Linked DNA regions of Homo sapiens: region 1 is linked to region 2. Evidence: promoter capture Hi-C in human tissues and cell types (Jung and others, 2019). All regions are on one chromosome and are shown on one strand. Each heading gives the region's core, a stretch centred on a gene start or on the middle of the fragment in contact. The rest is flanking DNA. Distances are from core to core; before and after follow the strand shown.

What was found. The method cuts DNA at HindIII sites, captures the fragments that hold promoters and counts their contacts. A contact is called where the count stands out against the background at its distance.
Region 1: a contact is called between a fragment that was not itself captured here and the fragment with the promoter of NAA16 in region 2, in 1 of the 25 tissues and cell types used here (dorsolateral prefrontal cortex).

The regions. Positions count from the first base shown.
Region 1 is chr13:41,915,388-41,918,090 of GRCh38, reverse strand. All of the region lies in intron 2 of VWA8 (von Willebrand factor A domain containing 8), which reads left to right. Among named protein-coding and RNA genes, the nearest start is that of VWA8, 44 kb to the left of the region's middle. RefSeq lists enhancers at 87-206, 1,316-1,395. The HindIII fragment of the contact is 3,772 bases long and covers 1-2,703 here.
Region 2 is chr13:41,310,011-41,312,710 of GRCh38, reverse strand. It overlaps NAA16 (N-alpha-acetyltransferase 16, NatA auxiliary subunit), which reads right to left and starts at 1,444. Exons shown (of 20, transcript NM_024561.5): 1 at 1,129-1,444. The coding sequence starts at 1,182. It also overlaps a transcript of MTRF1 not described here. The HindIII fragment of the contact is 7,787 bases long and covers 1-2,700 here.

The sequences.
Region 1 (2,703 bases), core at 10-2,509, 610 kb before region 2:
TTTTTTAGTTCAGTTAGTTCGTGTTGTAAATAATGAGGACTTTGGTGCTAAATATTTTCACCCTTCATGTCCATTATATCTAACTACAGAATGTTACATGGTAAATAGGGGAAAGTTTAGCAGATGAGCACGTAGTTGCAGTGAGGAGGTTAGTCATGCTTCCTTTGAAATCTTGTGTTGTGATGTGGTAGAAAAATCAAATTCAGGGGCATGTTATGGGCCTAGATGTAGATTCTTTCTGAGCTATTTTGTGGGGTGATGAAATGGTAATGAAATGTCAAGTGAAAGTACTCTAACATAGGCTTTACCAGTGAGGATGTAGTAAGTACTGGGTTCCTTTCTCCCTTATTCTTCAGATTTGCCTCTAGGCCCAGCAGGTAATTTGAGTGTAAACTCAGGAGCCTATTCATATCCACCAAATCCACACTATACAGCCTGGTGTCCAGGGTACACAGCAGAGATAGGAGTTTGCAGGTGAGGATGAGACTTGAATAATTCTCCCGTACCTGGTTCTCATTGGCTGAGGGACTGGGCATGGTGCTTTACCTATAATCCTCACAAACCATACTCAATAAGTATTATTATCTTTATTTTGAAAATAAGGAAACTACAAATCTGCGTGTTCTGCACATGTATCTCAGAACTTAAAGTATAATTTAAAAAATTTAAAAAAGAAAATAAGGAAACAGACCTGAAAGAGTCAAAATGCTTGTCTAAGGACATGGATAAAAGACAGGATGAAAAATCACAGTAGGTCTGTCTGGCTTCAAAGACTTTTTTTTTTCCTCCATTATATTATGCTGCTTTTTGGGATACTAAGAAAACATCAACAGTTTTGAAGGATTTATTATAATAGAATCTGACCTATGCTTAATTTTCTAGAATTTTAATTTTAACTTTTATATGTATGAAAATTTGAGTTCATGAAGGGAGAAAATTATAATTTAGATAACTATGATAAAATTACTTTAAAGCCTTTGAATATGGCTGGGCAAAAAATAGTACATATTTTTTGAAAACAAATATTGGTTAGGAATTGAATCAGGGATTTAGGCCAGTATGAACTACATGTTTTTATCTTTACATAGAAAAGGAATCTTAGAATATAGGATCAAGCTCTTTGGGATTATTTTGACATCGGTTTATTATTATGTGGACTCCTGGAAGGTAGCATTTTGTGCCTGAAAACATTGAAGTTGGGGATTTCTCTCGTGTACTGTGCTATGTTTATATTAGGTTATGCATGGCAGTTTGGCACTTTGTTTTGCAGATGTTCGTAATGTACAGTCTTGAATCTTGTTTCTATTTCTGGCGTGCTTTTAAGTATGACTCATGTTTTCTTGAGGCCATTCTAAAAATACAGCTAGTTTCAAGCATTAATGTAAAATATACCACAGATACCACATAGCACTGCATGATGCTTTCTTTCAGTAGTTTAGTGCAATTTCCTGACAAATTAAATATAGACATGCTTTTTGGTAAAATACGCTATACTAAAACATGAATAAGTGAAAGTTGGATTTTCTTTGAGAAGTAGATCCTCTGATAACATAATATTCATTACAAAATAACTTTGAAATTTTAATAAAAGGAATAAAACATACCATTGATACCACCAAAAAGAAGTAGAACTAATGGCTGGAACAGCAAGTCTGCTAAATTTGATGTAGCCCTGAGAGGTCCACACTTGTAGGGAAAGTCTTGCACCTGAAGCTGGACACCTGTTGAAAAGCTTTTGGAGGGACTGTAGAACATAATGACTGAAATACAAGTTTTGGACTTAAACAACTTAGGTATAAATCTTGGTTTATGGACTTAGCAGCTATAGACAAATGATACTACATTTCCAATTTTGATTTTCTTATTGTAAAATGGGAGTAATGAGTATTTAACAAACACAGCATTTACTGTTATTAGACACTGTTCTAAGTGCTTAATATAATCCTCATAACAACTTTATAAGTAAGTACAATTGTATCTATTATACAGATGAGGAAACTGAGCAGAGAGGTTAAATAACTTGATTAAGGTTACATAGCTAGTAAATAGTAGAGTTGGAATTTGAACCCAGCCAATCTGTCTTGAATCTGTGTCTTTATACAATAGGTCTGCTGCTTTCTAGAATTGTTATGAGATCCTATGTGAAAAATCGTTTGTATGTTTACCTGGTACCTGATAGGAATGCAATAAATTATAGCCATTATTAGTATTGTTATTGAGGGAGAATAAAAGCAGGGAAAATGTATTTTCTTTGTGAAGGTATGCCATAGACTACAAGGCCAGCCATGGGATTCAGAAGTAGCTTATATGTATTAAGAAACTTATGTAAAATTGGAATGTGATGATGAGAGCCTTAGATATCCTGACAACTCCTACAGACTTACTCTAAAGGTAGAACTTATTCTCTACTGATTTCCTCGCTAAAAGTTTTATCTTTCAGAAGGTAAAGGAAATAGAGAGAAACTCTTTCTCTGGGCTTAATTGTGACAAACTCATTAGTGGTGTGCAGGCAACAGAGGCCTTGAGAAAAAATAATGACTACACAATATTTCTCAACTATGGTGCCATTGACATACTGGGCAGGATGAGACCATCTTGGTCATTGCATTTACCATCACAAAATATCAGTGGTGTACCAAATTATTTCTCATTTCCCAAAGCTTTACAACAACCCAAAGTACTCCCAGACATTTTCCAAATGCC
Region 2 (2,700 bases), core at 195-2,694:
TTATCTGCCGCTGTTCATACTTAAAATTACTCTAAAATTAGTATTTTATTTATAGTAAAGTTAAGCAACAACTAACAGCCATATAGCCAACCCAGCTTTCAATAAATTCACCTTTAAACCTAAATGCATGTTTAGCAAATAAAAGCTTTTTTTCAGGTGAAAAGATAAACTAGAAAAGACAGTTACCTACTAACAATATTAGTTTAAAACCTAGGGTAGCCAGAGGATACTGAGGAAAGCAAAGGAATGCTGCCTCTTCTCCTTGGAAGAACAGAACCTGGAAAGCTACCAGGGACGCTGGCACACAGCCCACAGAAAACTGCCCACCCGGCTCCGCAGCGGTCATCACTACGGGGCCATTATTCAGGCTTCTGCTCCGCGATAAAGTAAAAATGCTCCCCTCAAATGCAAAACCAGCCAGTCCACGCGGCTTTAATTACTCAAGCAAGGCCTGTGCGACTAAAAAGCAAACAGCTGTTTTGAAGTTGGTGACAACTCAGAAACGCACTTCAAGTCAAATATTCACTTCCAAAGAGGTAAATAAGGTACATTACAAACAGGCAAACTTTTTCCCAAAGGGAGGTGGTGCCAGGCCTGGCTTCCTAAAGTTGCCGGTTTTATTTCCTCGTAACCAGGAAAAATTCCACCATCGCATCGATCCCGCTTTAATAGGTATGCGGGTGTGCTGTGCAATCTAACTAAACGCAAAGCAGAGAATGCAGAACGCAAAACACCTAGCCGAGGAGAGACTGGCAAAATAAACCACCGGGGGAGGATCCCTGAGGGGCTGCTGCGAGCCCGGCGCGGCAGAGAGCACGGCAGCCACTACCGGCCGAGGCGGCTGTGCCCGGGCACTGCGGAGAGCGGCGTGAAGTTTCTGGAAAGAGCGCGGCGGGGGTGAGGCGAGCCGCAGAAGACCGCGGAAAGGAAGCGCACGGAGGAGCGGCTCGGCAGCCCCCGTGGGCCGGCCGGAGCGGGAAAGTGGGGTCCCGCGACCTCCGAGGTAAACAAAGAGCGGTGGGCAGCGGAGGCCAAGCCTGGCCCGCGCCGGCCGCCGCCAGACCGCTTGCCCTTAAGGCCCGAGGACCCGGGGACCGGGGGGCGGCAGCGCGGCCTACGGCCACTCACCAAGATGCGTTTGAAGAGGTTGCTCTCCTTGGGCGGCAGCAGCACGTTCGGCATCGTGGCCGGCAGGGAGGCTAGGTGGCCGGCAGGGAGGCTAGGTGCCCGGGCGCTCCGCTTCGCGGGGGTGGGCACCGGGACGAACCGCTGCTGAGAGTCGGGCTGCGGGCGATGGATTAGTTCATTGGTCTACAGTTGCAATTGGGCAGCCTGGCTGTTCGGCACGGGTGGCAATGGAGAAGGAAGGCGGTCTGAGCAGGACACGCTTCCCCTGGGCTCCGCTTTTTGGCCAGCGGCGGCGGCGGCGGTTCCCGCGCACTGCAAGATGGCAGCCAGGGTCCGCCTCCCGAGCCGGATCCTGTGCGCATGCGCGGAGCGCCCTTTGGCGAGGGGCTGCGGGTGACTACGGGGGCGTAGCGGGGACCAACCGCGTGGATTTGCCTTGTGCTGCGGCTCTCCTCGCCGCAATCTCGGCACCCCCTGGGGCTCAGGCGAGCTGTCACCAAAACCTTGGAGTCCCATGGGGTGGTGAGTCACCACCCTCATTCACCATTGCTCCTATGCATCAGAACGCCTCATAAGACTCCTACTTATTGTCTGCTTCTCCTTGCAATAAAGTAATAAATAAAAACGAGAATTTTCTTTTAAGTAGAAAAGAGAAGACACTGACTTGTATTGCACTCTTGATAAGCTTGTGGCGCAAGATAATGTTAGTTATGACTCTGAAGAGTCAGAGTTTTTTGCATTTCTCCCCATTTAGGAATTTAAGTGTCCGATGCAAAGTAGACTTTTGATGAAAGATGAACTTGTTTTCTTTCCTTTTCCTCCTTGATTCAGACTCTAAGTAGAAGCCTTCTCTTTCCAGGGCAAACCAAACAAACATTTACAATCTTTGTTTTTGTTTGGTTGGTTGGTTTTGAGATGGAGTATCGCTCTTGTCGCCCAGGCTGCAGTGCAGTGGCGCTATCTGGGCTCACTGCAACCTCCGCCTCCTGAGTTCAAAGGATTCTCCTGCCTCAGCCTCCCGAGTGGCTGGGATTACAGGCATGCGCCACCACACCCGGCTAATTTTGTATTTTTAGTAGAGACAGGCTTTCACCATGTTGGCCAGGATGGTCTTGATCTCTTGACCTCGTGATCCGCCCCCGCGTCAACCTCCGAAAGTGCTGGGATTACAGGCGTGAGCCACCACACCTGGCCGGAATTACGGTTTTATAAGGCCACTGGTCTTCTGAGTCTACCTACCCTTTCTCTTCAGATGGTTCCCCTTCCTGAAAGCCATATAATAATGGGAGAAACAGGCTTCAAATTCAGGATCTTCCAACTCTGGGATACTCTCTACAACAAATAAAAGGCAGCATATTGATGGTAATGTGTGAGTCTAGAAAGATACAACAGTGGCAAGAATAAACCATACATTCAGTGTAGGGTTAGTAGTAAGGTGTGTGTAAACATTAGGTACATAAGTTTATTTATACATGTGCTGAATCTTAATGGGTGCATATTTCTGAGACTATAAAGTAATTGATGAGTAACTGCATTTAGTCGGCTGTAATCAGAACTGGGCTGCCCTTTTTT